Regions from separate parts of the Homo sapiens genome. Here regions 1, 2, 3 and 4 are each linked to region 5. The links are contacts of gene promoters, found by promoter capture Hi-C in blood cells and fetal thymus (Javierre and others, 2016). All regions are on one chromosome and are shown on one strand. Each heading gives the region's core, a stretch centred on a gene start or on the middle of the fragment in contact. The rest is flanking DNA. Distances are from core to core; before and after follow the strand shown.

Evidence for each region. The method cuts DNA at HindIII sites, captures the fragments that hold promoters and counts their contacts. A CHiCAGO score of 5 or more calls a contact.
Region 1: the fragment with the promoter of FZD5 here is called in contact with the fragment with the promoter of KANSL1L in region 5 in 1 of 17 cell types (neutrophils); the score reaches 17.7 in neutrophils.
Region 2: a contact is called between the fragment with the promoter of CREB1 here and the fragment with the promoter of KANSL1L in region 5, in 4 of 17 cell types (neutrophils, monocytes, total CD8 T cells and 1 more). The highest score is 11.2, in neutrophils.
Region 3: a contact is called between the fragment with the promoter of CCNYL1 here and the fragment with the promoter of KANSL1L in region 5, in 1 of 17 cell types (neutrophils). The highest score is 8.7, in neutrophils.
Region 4: a contact is called between the fragment with the promoter of METTL21A here and the fragment with the promoter of KANSL1L in region 5, in 3 of 17 cell types (monocytes, fetal thymus and neutrophils). The highest score is 6.7, in monocytes.

Annotation. Positions count from the first base shown.
Region 1 is chr2:207,768,656-207,771,355 of GRCh38, reverse strand. FZD5 (frizzled class receptor 5) reads left to right here and starts at 1,450. Exons shown (of 2, transcript NM_003468.4): 1 at 1,450-2,091; 2 at 2,362-2,700. The coding sequence starts at 2,617. RefSeq lists enhancers at 1-385, 550-599 and silencers at 1,150-1,829, 2,170-2,229, 2,640-2,699. The HindIII fragment of the contact is 9,976 bases long and covers 1-2,700 here.
Region 2 is chr2:207,528,625-207,531,324 of GRCh38, reverse strand. CREB1 (cAMP responsive element binding protein 1) reads right to left here and starts at 1,363. Exons shown (of 8, transcript NM_004379.5): 1 at 1,191-1,363. It overlaps LOC124907970 (a long non-coding RNA gene), which reads left to right and starts at 1,728. Exons shown (of 3, transcript XR_007088060.1): 1 at 1,728-1,889. RefSeq lists silencers at 55-224, 935-984, 1,015-1,144, 1,815-1,994 and enhancers at 1,235-1,334, 1,595-1,794. The HindIII fragment of the contact is 5,804 bases long and covers 1-2,700 here.
Region 3 is chr2:207,710,193-207,712,892 of GRCh38, reverse strand. CCNYL1 (cyclin Y like 1) reads right to left here and starts at 1,253. Exons shown (of 10, transcript NM_001330218.2): 1 at 777-1,253. The coding sequence starts at 996. RefSeq lists silencers at 430-589, 602-711, 1,132-1,581 and enhancers at 453-1,449, 1,802-1,851, 1,862-2,061. The HindIII fragment of the contact is 3,390 bases long and covers 1-2,557 here.
Region 4 is chr2:207,624,083-207,626,842 of GRCh38, reverse strand. It overlaps METTL21A (methyltransferase 21A, HSPA lysine), which reads left to right and starts at 1,449. Exons shown (of 4, transcript NM_001127395.5): 1 at 1,449-1,781; 2 at 2,439-2,614. The coding sequence starts at 2,468. RefSeq lists enhancers at 1-278, 279-983 and a silencer at 1,254-1,853. The HindIII fragment of the contact is 10,824 bases long and covers 1-2,760 here.
Region 5 is chr2:210,169,957-210,172,680 of GRCh38, reverse strand. It overlaps KANSL1L (KAT8 regulatory NSL complex subunit 1 like), which reads left to right and starts at 1,272. Exons shown (of 15, transcript NM_152519.4): 1 at 1,272-1,532. RefSeq lists enhancers at 343-976, 977-1,612, 2,006-2,185, 1,613-2,247 and silencers at 1,056-1,385, 1,506-1,815. The HindIII fragment of the contact is 7,802 bases long and covers 1-2,724 here.

The DNA.
Region 1 (2,700 bases), core at 201-2,700, 2.4 Mb after region 5:
AAAACTTGTAGCATAATTGCGCAACTGAAGAGCGCCGCCGTGTCCCCGCCATCGGTGCGCCCTCCGACCCCCCGCGGCGCGCAAGTGCGCGGCTTAGCAGCAGGCAGCCGGGGACGGAAGGGCACGGGGAGGCCGGCGCCCTGCCCAGCACAGAACCCTGGGTCGGTATCGCTTCTCTCTGCGGGCGACTTCGGAACTGCCTGGGATTATAAACCTCGACCAATAAAGGACTCACATCTTTCTGGGTCTTCTAAAGGCAGAAAGAAATCCATTTTCTTGTCACAACAAGATTTTGTTAAGAGATGCAAAAGTAAAGGTCGAAGCCAGGGAGGCTGCGATAGTATGGGGGGAGGGGCGGCTACGATGGTGAGTGCCGCTGACCAACTACCTGGGTTCGAATCCCAGGGTTGCCATTTGGGCGGCTACTATGTGCCAGGTGATCGGAATACGGAGGTGAACTTGCTTGCCGAGGTCGCCCTTTCTTGGGGGAACTATGATTAGCTCGGTTGCCTTGGCCAAGTCTCAGTCTCGGTTTCTTCACCTGTAGGAAGTACCTGCCTCAGAATTGTTGTAAGGAGTGAGATCTTGTCTTAAGATGTAAACGGGCCGGGCGCGGTGGCTCACACCTGTAATCCCAGCATTTTGGGAGGCCGAGGCGGGCAGATCACGGTGTCAGGAGTTCGAGAACAGCCTTACATGGTGAAAGCCCGTCTCTACCAAAAATACAAAAATTAGCTGGGCGTGGTGGCGGGCGCCAGTAATCCCAGCTACGCAGGAGGCTGAGGCAGGATAATCGCTTGAACCCGGGAGACAGAGGTTGCAGTGAGCCGAGATCGCGCCACTGCACTCCAGCCTGGGAGACAGAACAACTCGTCTCAAAAAAAAAAAAAAAAAAAAAGGATGTAACCGATTAACACTTTGTTGGGCACACAGTAAAGGGCTCAGTAAGTATCCTCTCTTCTTTCACACAGTTCCAAGACAGCTCGGAAGGGAGACAGCCACGCCTAAGAGTGATTCCTTGAGCAGTTCTTTCAAAGAAGCACTGAACTCTGTAAGGACGCTTAGCTGCAGGCAGAAAGGGCAGGGGCCCTGGGAGCAAAGGTGCATAAGCCAGGAAGTTACAGGAGCGAGTCCTGCACCCAGGGCGCGGGCAGAGAACTCCGGAGGGACTTCTGGCAAGGGCTTCCCGCCCGGGTGCCCAGAGCGGCATGATTAGCATTCGCCCCGCCCCCATCTCCTCCAGGCCCGCGATTGGTCAGCGCTCCTTGGCTGCCCGCTCCTGGCGGGGCCAGAGGGCGCCGGGGGAAAGGCCGAGCCCGCGGGGCAGTGGGCGGGGACGCGCGGAGAGCTTGGCGAGGCGGCCCACCAACCGCGCCCGGGCCTGAGGGGGCGGAGCCGGGGCGGGGCTTCCCGGCGGGCATTAGAAGCAGGTGACCCGGGCGGGGCGGGAGAGGGCAGCCAGCCTGCGGCCGTGAGTCCGCTGTGGTCGCCGCCGCGCGCGGTTCCGTGCTCGCCAGAGGTGGGCGAAAGGGTGCGAGAGCGCGGGGGAGGAGCCGAGCAGGGCACGTCCCGAGAGCGTCGCCACCGCCCCCAGGAGTCCACTGGAGCGCGGAGCCCCCTGCAGGGGAGGAGGCGAGCGGCGGGCGGGACGCGGCGGCCGGCGCTCACCATGCAGTCCCGGCCTGGCCAGCGCCGGCTGCTCGCGGTGCTGTGAGGCGGCGGGGTCCCACGGCCCCCGCCTCCCGCCTTCCTCCCGCCCAGGTGCTGCCAGGCGCGCTCGCCCTCCGTCCGGCTCCCGGCCCCGGGGAGAACGCACGGCCTGCCCCTGCCCGGCTCCGTCTGGATCATGCGGGGGGCTCCCGAGGAGGAGAGGGCGAGTGACCGGCCTGCGCCGCCCCTGTTCTGGGGGCGCCCCCCACTCTGAGTCGCCCCCACCTGCTGCCATGTGCCGCTGCCACGGGTACCCAGCCTGTCGCTAAACTTTCCGGGCGCCAGCCCGGCTCTGAGTCGCGCTTCTCAGCGGAGTGACCCAGGGACGGAGGACCCAGGCTGGCTGGGGACTGTCTGCTCTTCTCGGCGGGATCCGTGGAGGTGAGAACCTTCCCTTTCTCCCTGTTCTTCTCCCGTTTCCTGTGCCCTTTTCCGGGAAGCTGAGGGTTCTGGTCTCCGGGCACTGCCTGAAGGGCCCAGCTTGGAAAGAGAGGGTGGGGGAGTCGGTAGTTTGGTTACAGGAGGCGGAGCGGGGAGGAAAGGAAAGGGGTTAACTTAAGAGATTTGGAGACAGCTCGCGGGGACCGAACTGTTGACGCCTCTCCAACAGGGAGTGGTTGCAATCTTTCTTCTCCCCCTTCTTTTTTAAAGAGTCCTTTCCCTGGAATCCGAGCCCTAACCGTCTCTCCCCAGCCCTATCCGGCGAGGAGCGGAGCGCTGCCAGCGGAGGCAGCGCCTTCCCGAAGCAGTTTATCTTTGGACGGTTTTCTTTAAAGGAAAAAGCAACCAACAGGTTGCCAGCCCCGGCGCCACACACGAGACGCCGGAGGGAGAAGCCCCGGCCCGGATTCCTCTGCCTGTGTGCGTCCCTCGCGGGCTGCTGGAGGCGAGGGGAGGGAGGGGGCGATGGCTCGGCCTGACCCATCCGCGCCGCCCTCGCTGTTGCTGCTGCTCCTAGCGCAGCTGGTGGGCCGGGCGGCCGCCGCGTCC
Region 2 (2,700 bases), core at 114-2,613, 2.6 Mb after region 5:
CAATCTCTCATTAAAGTTCACACAGAAATTCGTGGGAAATATGGTAGGGGGAGTGGGACGGAGGGTGAGGGGAGATCCAGATGACCCAAACGCGGTTGGCAAGGTTGCACCCCGCGAAATGATGTAAAACAAGAGTACATCGGCTGATACTCGTTCCAACGAAGTGTTTCAGAATGATAGATCTCAAGTGATGATTACCTTATTAAAAAGGGTTAAAACCGAAACTGTTTTCAAACACCAGCTTCCCTTTTATAAGATCCCAACAGTTTAAAAAGTTATTATAAATGTTTTTCTTAGCACCCTTTCTCCCAAAAAGCATGCATTTCCATGACTGACTTTAAAAAAAAAAAAAAAGCAAAGGGGTGAGGGAGTCAAAAATTCCCCCCAAAAGCACAAGCTCTCATCTCTCAACTAAGCAACACAGGGCAGAAAGCAGCATTTCCTCAACGGTGTAGGAGCGGGGGGGAAAGGGCACGAATAAAATACAGCACGAGAGGAAACCTTGGGTTTCGAACTTTATTGCACAAAGAGTGGAGAGAAGAGTAGGTCAGACGTTGCAGCTCTTCCCCTTGCGAAGCGGGCATGGCAGGCACCGAAGCCACCGGGAAGGCAGCAGGCACCTTCACCTCCTCTGCCCTCAACTGTCGCCTTCTTCCTCCTCCATCCCCCACCGGCACCTAGGCGGCGGCTGCCCCGGAGGCCCGGCCGGGTCGGGCCGGGGGCGAGGCGGGCGGCGGGGGCCGGACGAGCGAGCGGCGCGGGGGGCAGCGCCGGGCCGAGCGGGCGGCCTCCCCCGGGGCGGCTCCGGGTTCCCGGCTCCGCGCCCGGCCCGGCGGCGGCGGCGGGAACGCGGGCGCCAGCTCGCCGCGGCCGGCCGCCCGCACACACCCCCGGCCGCCGGCTCCCACCCCGCCCGCCGCCCGCCGCCCGCCGCCCCCCGCCATGAGCGCCGCCGCTGGCTGCAGGCAGAGTCGCTGCCGCCCCGGCCGCCGCTGGCTCCAGTCCGCCGCCATTATTCTTTGTTCGCTGCGAGCGGCGGCGATGTTGTGGGGCTCGGGCGGAGGCTCCATCTTTACCGCGGCCCCTCCTGCGAGGGGAAGGCCCCAAGCGCGGGTGTCCGGCGCCTCCCCGTCCCCCCTCCGTCCCCCCGGCTCTCTCTGGCTCCTGCCTCCTCCTCCTGCTCCTCTTACCGGTGGTACAAGCTCCTCCGTCACTGCTTTCGTTCACGGCCCGGATCTCGCTGGAGTTTTATTCTCTCCCCCACGTAACACACCGCGTCAAACTACACCTCCGCCGCGTCACTCACCAACACTCCGCTTCTCCCAGCCGCCCGGGCCACAGGCAGCAGCAGCCGCCGCCGACTGAGGAGCCGCAGCCAGGGAGCCAGCCAGCGCCGCCCAGTGCCGAGTGCGCAGCGGCCGCGCACGGAAACAGCCGAGCTAGGCCCGGAGCAGCTCGAGCGGCCCCGCCCCCGCGCTGGGGACGGAACTTGCCGAAGACCTTCGGGTTTCTTCGGGCGACGAGAAGGGGTTCCGCGGGGAGAGGGAAGGCGAAGGCGGGCTGAGCCCGGCGCCGGGAGGAGTGGTCTAAACTCCACCGCGGCTTTCGCATCGGTAAAGCCGGCAGCGGAAATTTGAAGGAGGAAGCGGGGTTTGTGTGTGGCCCAGTGGGGGAATTCCCGAGGGGTGTCGGCGACTTGGTGGAAACCCCCGCTCAGGCCTGCCCCTGCGGCGGTGAGCGGCGGGCTAGAAGGCGGCTGCGGCTGCCCTGGCTCTGCTCTTGACCGCCGCCAGCCCCGGGAACTTTCCGACGCCGCCGGGAGACGGGGGACGGGCAGCCCGGGCTGGGACGCGGCCGGACCGCTGGAGCCGTGCGGGCTGGGGAAGAAGGTCTGCTGCGCCTCTGCCAACGTCCCGGGGCCTGGGACCCGGGGGCGTCGTGGGACCCCCGTGGGGACGGGTTTTCCTTTCCGAGACTCCGCGGAGAAACCTGGCGGCCGCCAGCGGAGCATGCTTTTCCGGGGGGCGCTGGCCCCGATACTGTGGCACCTTGCGGGGCTCTGCCCGGACCATGGCTGACGTCGACGGCCCTCGGAGGCCTCCAAGCCACACAACCTGCCCGGACCCCTGGAAATATGCCCCATCCTACCTCCCCGCCTTTCTCCAGACAACATCCTGTGTCGCTTTCTTTCCTCAGCCTGTTTTCTACAGCAGGGATTCGCACCCACTGCACCCTAAACCCAGCAGGGGGACTTCCGTGGCTGGAAACTACTGAATTGTTCTTTCAGAGGTCTCTCAGGACGGCACCACTAGGTCCCCATTCTCCTTGATAGTGAACTCTGCAGCCCTCTCCTTGGGGTTTCAAGTCTTTTTTTTTTTTTTTTTTTTTTTAATGAGACGGAGTCTAGCCCTTGTCGCCCAGGCTGGAGTGCAGTGGCACGATCTCGGCTCACTGCAACCTCCGCCTCCCGGTTTCGAGCGATTCTCCTGCCTCAGCCTCCCTAGTAGCTGGGATTACAGGCACCTGCCACCACACCTGGCTAATTTTTGTGTTGTTAGTAGAGACGGGGTTTCACCATGTTGGCCAGGCTGGTATGGAACTCCTGACCTCAGGTAATCCACCCGCCTCGGCCTCCTAAAGTGGTGGGGTTACACGTATGAGCCACCGCGCCCGGCCTCAAGTCTTAATCATTCTTTTTCT
Region 3 (2,700 bases), core at 4-2,503, 2.5 Mb after region 5:
AGCGAGCCGAGATCGCGCCACTGCACTCCAGCCTGGGCGGGCGACAAAACGAGATTCCGTCTCAAAAAAACAACTTGTCTGCACCCCTGGTAATAACCTCTCACACCCTTCACAGTCATTTTACGCCCCTCCCCCCATTTTCTTTCTTTCTGTGTTCAAATTATAGTTGGAAGGAATAAAGCAGCTTCTTTCACGCCGACTTAACCTATTAGGAATACCATATAGTGTCTCCTATGGCAACCTCTATTTTGAGTCTAGATAAGAAATCCTCAAACATCTGGGTCTAAACTGTCGCGGGCATCAGCTATCTTCACGGATGGGAGGAAGGAACAATCAGACCCTTACCTGGTTCCTTCACTTAGGTACCATCTGGATGGGTTAAGGGAGGGAATGGGATGAGTACTCCGAAGTTGAGGTATTTGAGTTTCCATTGAGAAAAGGAAAACAATATACCCCAAAAGTCTTAGCAAAGTCCCACCAGACAATGAACAGAGCTACAAACAAGAAGGGCGGCGGACTAGAGGGTCCCACGCCGGCTTGGGAGAATGGGAAGCGGGAGCAAGAACTGGGCGTTACGGTAAGGAGGAGGAAAAGAAACTGGCCAGACGCAGCAGGGCAAGAATAAGGGGTGGGGACGCGAGGCAGAACCAGCCTTCGTCCCGGGGCCGGCTACCGGCAGGAAGGAGCCCGAGGCGGCGGATGCCTCCCGGGGGACTCTGGGGGAGGAGGCGGGCAGAGGTGAGCCCGAGGGCGGATGGCATCCGCCGCCTCCTTACCTTCGGGCATCTCGCGGTCGCTGATGTGCTGCAGGTGGTGGCCCTCGCCCTCTCCGAAATCCAACTCGGCAGGCTCCACCACAGCGGGCGCTACCGCCACCGCGTCCCCGGACACCGCCTCGTAGATGTCGGACGCGCAGTACAGCTCCGCCGACCCCGCGCGCCGGCCCAGCTTGGGGCTGGCATTGGGGGACACGCAACAGGTCAGCGTGTTCCCCATGGGAAGCCTCCGCTCCTCTCTGCCACCGCCTTCGCTCGCCCCCTACTCCGCCGCCCTCAACAGCCGCCCCCTCCCCCAACAATGGCGCGGCCGGCACCGGCAGCCCCGGGCTACGCTGGGGCTGCACCGCGCAAGCAGACGCCGCCTCGCCCGCGGTTCGCCCGCCCGCCCCGCGGCCCGGCCCCGGGCAGGGCTCGGGCCTCGGCCGCACCCCCACCGCCGCGCTGCCGCCGCCTCCCTTAAGCTGACTCGTCTGCGAGGGCGGTGACCAGCCCGGCTTATTTAAAAGGGGTGGGGAACCCAACAAGCGCTGTGAAGCACAGCCACTGCCGGGAGAGAGCGCGGCTGGAGCTCCTCCTCCTTCCGCCGCCGCCTACCGACTGAAGGCCGCTGGCCCTGGCCGGTGCCTGCCAACCGGAACGCGACCTGCGGTCACCTGGTTAGGAGGAACCAATCATGGTCAGAGTTCCCCCTCCGGCGCCCGCCTCGAAGCCAGGCACGTGACCTGCTGCCCCGCCCCCGCCTGGCAGCTGCCCAGCCCCTCACGCCGCTATCCCAGACTCGGGTTTTCATTCATCGCTGGCTGCTGGGAGCTTTCCGGTCCTACTGGAAGCGCACGGGCATTTGTAACTGGAAGCTGTGTCAATGATCTCTGTAGAAAGCCGTTATTAGTAAAGAGTTCGCTCCATTAGCAACTCTTCTTCCGAGTCTGACAGCTTTCGTTTGCTCACTAAACTTGGTTACACCCAAATTGTTAACTGTTTTTGTAACTCAGTGCTCCGCTCCTGTCTTCCAATGAGCGTTAGTTTTCACCTGCAACGTGATCATAGCAACCCTGGGGCCCTGGTCCTACTCTCCATAAAGAGTTGTGGCTGTGGGTCTTGAATGAGACTCGAGGACACGTCACCCTTCCACTTCCTCATCCATAAAATAGGGACCTAACTCGTCCCTGCCAACTCTGAAATGCTGGGACTCGCCAACTCCCTTTTCTTGCCTGTTTCTCTCCTCTAGGCAGGGACTTCCAGGTTTCTCTTCTTGTACTAAAAACAGCACAGAAAGCACGATTTTCTCACGCAAAACTGAGAACCATGCAGTGGGGCACCACAGTCTTGATTCCATGAAGATGAATAGTTACCATTTGGCAAGCACTATGTGCCAGACAGTGTTCCAACTGTGGTATATTTATTTAACCCTTAAAAACAATCCCGGCCGGGCGCGGTGGCTCATGCCTGTAATCCCAACACTTTGGGAGGCCGAGGCGGGCGGATCACCAGGTCAGGAGATCCAGACCATCCTGGCTAACACGGTGAAATCCCGTCTCTACTAAAAATACAAAAAATTAGCCGGGCATGGTGGCACGCGCCCGTATTCCCAGCTACTCGGGAGGCTGAGGCAGGAGAATCACTTGAACCCGGGAGGCAGAGGTTGCCGTAAGCCGAGATCGCGCCATTGCACTCCAGCCTGGGCGACCTAGGCTCCGTTTCAAAAAAATAAAACATAAAAATAAAAATAAATAAACAAATATATATATATACACACAATGTCACTTCCTCCCTAAGCTTGATTTCTACCTTTATTTTCTGATCATCATGATCAGGGACCCTCACCCTGAGCAGTCATGTAAGCTTGCGGAAGTAACTTAACTTCTGCGTCCCAATTTCTTCTATAAAACCTGCAAAATGGGATTGTTTTTTTTTTGTTTTT
Region 4 (2,760 bases), core at 200-2,699, 2.5 Mb after region 5:
GCTGAGATGAGCGGATCACCGGAGATCAGGAGTTCAAGGCCAGCCTGGCCAACATGGTGAAGCCCCGTCTCTACTAAAAACACAAAAAAAGCCGGGTGTGGCGGCGGGCGCCTGTAATTCCAGCTACTTTGGAGGCTGAGGCAGGAGAACTGCTTGAACCCGGGAGGTGGAGGCTGCAGTGAGCCGAGATCGCGCCACTGCACTCCAGCCTGGCGACAGAGCAAGACTCCGTCTCAAACAAACAAACAAAATCCCACAAAAATTAGCTGGCGTGCTGGCGCAGGCCTGTAATCCTAGCTACACGGGAGAATGAGGCAGGAGAATCGCTTGAACCCGGAAGGCGGAGACTGCAGTGAGCCGAGTTCGCGCCCTTGCACTCCAGCCTGGGCGACAGAGAGAGACTCCGTCTCAAAACAAAAACAAAAACAAAAACAAAAGCAAAAAACCAAACAAAAAAATCAGCGCTCGGGCCCCCTCCCATGGCCAGCTCTTGGGGCGGGGGACTGGTAAGGGAGGTTTACCCCAGCTGGTTCTAACGTGCAGCCGCGCTGAGAGCGCAGCGGGCGGTGTGGGGCGAGGGGCCCCAGGAGGAAAAAGAAGCCTGCCCCGGGAGGATGCCGGTCCCCGCACGGTCCCACTCAATGGACCCACTCCAGCCGCGCGCTCTGCCAGGGCCTGCGGCCAGGGTACCAGGCCCTCGGCACCTTCCACGTCCAGCGTGGGTCCTCACGGGCAGGTGCGTCTTGGCATCGGGAGGAGGGAGACTGGGGCACTGGAGTCTGCAGCGCCGCCTGGGGCCGGGGCTGGAGCCGAGCGCACGCCCAGAGCTCCGCGCTTCCGACTGCAGCCAGAGCCCGCCGACCCCCGCCCCACTTTAAAAACTTGGACTCGGGCGCCACGTGTTCACTTCCCCCACTGTGCTTTAGTTGAAAAGGGTTTTGTGACTTTTCCACTCGATTGCCGCCAAGCGGGCTATTACGCCGCTTCTGACCCCACCGTGGAGACGCGGGGACTAGAGTGACCATGCCTTCTTCGGAGCGAGCTGTCTCCATCATCCGCTAACGCGCCACCTTTAAAAAACAGGCACAACGCGCAAGCGACAAAGTCAGAGGCAGAGAGCGGCGGAGCACATGATAGAAAAGGTCGAGAGGCACATTCAGCGCCAGGTGGGTGGCTTTTCTCTCCCGCTAGGAGAGCCCAGGGCACCCCATGCTCTCCCTGTGCACCCGCGGCAGTTCGGCACCCCGATCTCACTCTTGCTCCCGCCCCCACAGCGCCTCCCTCGGCGGCGGGGGAAACGGATTAAGTCGTCCGTGTACCCTGGGGACGCACGAGGGAAAGCCCCGGTCCCCCCTCCCGCAACGTCACTCCTCCACCGCGCCACGGCCCGGCCCCGCCCTCGCCGTGAGCTCCGGGGGCACCTGCCGGAGGCTGGGTGCCGGGAGACCGGAAATGCGTGGCTCCGGGCCGGGGCCGCCCGCCCCCGCGTCGCGGGCTCTTTAAGGCCGGCGGTTTTCGCAGCCAGCCCGGGGCGGGGAAAGCGGAGCGCGCGCTCCACGCGGGACCGCCTCCCGGGCCGTAAGTACCGGCGTGGCGGCGCCTCAGCCCGGCCTGGGCGAGCCCTGGGTGCTCCGCCGGGCAGCTCACGGCGCCCCGTATGGCCTGGGGATCCTAAGAGGCCCTGTGACCCCCCTCGCCTGGTCTCCCTCTCACCCCTGGAGGGTTGCCGCAGCTCCGGGGCCCCCGGGCAGGAAGGGCGCACTGGTCGTCCCGGGAGAGGGGTGAGTGGGGGGCAGCTATAGGGGGAGTTCGGGGAGGCCTCCGAGTCCCCGCTGTCCCCGCGAGCCGCTTGGAGGCCCCCAGTGTCGCTCACTTCCAGGGTCGGGGAGACGGAACTGCGGCGACCATGTATTTCTGGTTTATCAAACCGCTAACACCCAGTCTAAGGGCAGGTTCTGTCCCATTGTTATCACTATCGAAGCAGCCGATGGAGGAGGGGAGGTGGGTAGCGAAACCGTAGCGAAAGAACCCGGGCCGCCCGGCTGGCTGCAGCTGCAGTCCGGGCGCCCGGGTCTGGGTTGGAAGCGCTGCTTTCCGCGCTGCTCTGGGGCCCTGGGCGATCACCGCCGCTTCCGCCGCTTGTGTAGTTCTGAATTCACGGAGTGGTAGCAGTGCAGTGTATAGGGTATTCTGCGGAAGTTGGAATGTTCTGGGCTTTTTTTTTCTTCTTCCCCAAACACATCCGTTGACACAAATTCCGAGCCAAATCTCACTCAGATTCGGAAGAGCCATGCAAAAGAAATTGGACAAAGGCTTCCTCCACCTGTTTCTTTTTTTCTTTTGAACTTGTAAACGACCTTAAAAGCATTTGGAGTTAGTTAAGAACAGATAATGTATCTTTTGGCCAGAGCGTCACCCAGGATTCTTTTGCACGGCAGGTCTGAGCAGAGGGCGGGGTGCAGGCGGAATGGCCCTCGTGCCCTATGAGGAGACCACGGAATTTGGGTTGCAGAAATTCCACAAGCCTCTTGCAACTTTTTCCTTTGCAAACCACACGATCCAGATCCGGCAGGACTGGAGACACCTGGGAGTCGCAGCGGTGGTTTGGGATGCGGTAAGTAAGCCCTGGGGGACCTCTGAAAACGTTCACACTTGCAAGACTGGCTTTTATTTTTTATTTTTTTTAGAACAGCTTTATTGAGATATAATTCACATAGCATACACTTTACCTATTTAAAGTGCACAATTCAGTGCGGTTTT
Region 5 (2,724 bases), core at 23-2,522:
GATTTAATTATTTTTCACAACACATCATTAGCTTACAATTTTTATTACAATGAAAGTAAATCAATTTCCTAAAATTCTTCCCTTGCCCCATATCGAGGTGCAATTATTCAGTAATTAAAAAAATATAGCTCCAATAAATGCAGCTGGTCATAAAAATTATTTCAGTAATATCACAATCTACTAGAAGAACCAGGAACGAGTAGCTAATTTTCCAATTCCAGTTATCTATGTTACGGATTACGCTTTGTTATGACTGCAATTCCTTGGATTTCTCCCCTCTTCCGCCCCCGGGATCTTATCCAATTGATAAGGTTAAAATAATGGCTATTATCCTTCTGGCTTAAAAAGCCTAGTGCTCTTCGTTCCTTAAATCATTTCATGTGTAAATTCGGTGCTTAGGAAAGACTGTGATACAACATCTAAGAAGCTACATTTAGAGTTCAGTTTTAAAAAAATCGAGTTCTTGGCTGGGGAAGTGCCCAGGTGCAGGTTTGTTTTGTGGTGAGCGGTTCGCGGGGCCAGGTGCAAGACGCTCAGAAGTGTTTTTGGGTGTCGCTGGCCAACTATCTCCACATAAACTCCGTTTGTTTATTTGACAGCGTTACTGCAGAGGGGAGTTAGGTCCAGCGCCACTCAAACCAGATTTGTAGAGACTTAAAACTGCTTTGTCTGTTTTTTTTTTTTTAATCATAAAACCACCCAGTTGGATCCAAGGCAAATTTGTCACCTACTTCAGGGCCCCTCTGAGGGTCAGAAAGAATTATGAGCGCATTTGAACGCACGGCCCAAATAAAAGCAAACGCACGGAGACTTGCGGACTTGACAATTGTGAGAAATCTCTTAAAACTCGCCTGTGGAGCGGCGGGCGAAAGCCGCGGACGCCAGCAGTAGTCGAGGCCCCGGCGCGGACGGCAGGGAATGAAGTCGCCTGACTTTTCCTCAGGGTTTTGTTTTTCTGTCACGGAGGTACAAAAATAGCAAAGCAGGGGTGGGAAGTCTCCTGGCCGTGTTTTTTTTTTTCCCCCTCGCCAGGGATGGCACTGGGAAAGAGAAGGGAGGAAGCAGGAGCTGCACGGAACCCGTCCCGAGGGAGCCGAGGTAAACCCTGCACCAGAGTTAAGGGAGTCGTGCTCCTGCCACTTCCAGAACACTCCGAGCCGCTTCTGCAGGCCCCGCCCCCTGCCGGGGTTTCCCCGCCACCCGCTTCATTTGCATGGCGCTGCCCCTCCCCCGTTGCCATTGGCTAGCGCCGGGCCCCGCCCACTGCTCCCAGACCGCGGCAGGGTTCCGTCCCCCCGAGCCGCACGGAGCTGCGGGCAGCGGGCGGACTGTTAAACCGCGGCGGCGGCGGCGGCGGCGGCGGCGGCGGCGGCGGCGGCGGCGGCCGGGGCGGGAGCGGGGCGCGCTCTGGAGACGAGTCAGCGGCGCCCCGGGTGGGGGAGGCGGGCGGGCAGCTAGAGATCACCTCAGCAGCCCCCACCACGGCCGGACCGAAGGTGCGGCGGCGGAGGGGAGCCAGGGCGCCCCAGCAGGCGAGTGGCCGGCGTCTCAGCGGCGGGATGACGGGGGTGGGTCTTCCCTCTTGGGGACGGCGGCAGCGCGGGGAGGGGAGAAGACTGCCGGGTGGACTTGCGGGTCAGGCGACCGACCGGCAGCCCCTTCGCCCCCCGAATCCTCTGGGCTGCTGGACTCTGGTCTCGGCACGGGATCGCGCTCTAGGGCGGGGGTCTGACCGCAGCCAAATTTAAACGGCTAAACCTAACAGCCTTGGCAGCTGGGGAGGGAAGGGGTCTAGGGAGGGGTGGGGGCGGACCTGGACGCCGGTCACGTGGGGGGTGGGGCTTGGCAGACCTCCCTTTTGTTTTGGCTGGCGCGTGCGCAGAAGGCAGAACACGTGGTTTCCTGGACCCGCCTCTTGCCTCATCGGCTGAGCCTCACCCATTGGGGGTGTGGTGACGGCTCTTTTGAGGCGGCTCTGAGGCGGAGCCCACTGGATTTGATGAGACCCCTATTTTATTTATTTCACACTTTCTTTCAGGAAAACGTAGATTTGGGCTTTAGAGTTAGATGGGATAGAGCAGAATCTAGGGGATTTTTGAGGGACGGTGCTTCCAAGTTTGTGTCACCGGTGTGCTGAGGAAGGGACCGGTCTTGCTGGAAAAAGTCAGATTGCGTGGTGTTTGGTAGCAAGAAATACCAGGCGGTATCCTGGCCGTTTCAGAAACCACAGGAAAGGAAAGAGGCTGGCTTTGCAGTCGGGAGGGCAGGCACTGGATGGACGTTCTTGTAATGTTTTCTTACTCTGGGAGAGTCCGTTTTTGTTTGTTTTTTTGTTTGAACTGTGGTAAGCACATTCCGTTTTTGATTCCCCAAACTTCAGGACATTCATGTTCTGGCGAGGTTTAGGAGACAAACTTCCTTCGTCTTTAGCCAGTTTGCTTAACTTCATCTGAGTTTGGGTCAGTAATAATTTTAAATATTGCTGGATGGGGCAGGTTTGTTAGCCACAAAACCTAAGTGAAGTGAGCACTGCAGACAAAACTGGCAATTTCTGACTAGGAAAAAATGACTCTAAAAATAATTCAGTATTGAGAAAGAGGCTTAACAGTGAGTGGTCTCTGCCTTTCCCGTTCTTAATAACTAGCCATTTCTTTGGGTTAGTCACCTCTCTGATGTCAAACTTGTTTCGTTTTTGTAAAGTTTCATAATATGGTCTCTGTCTTA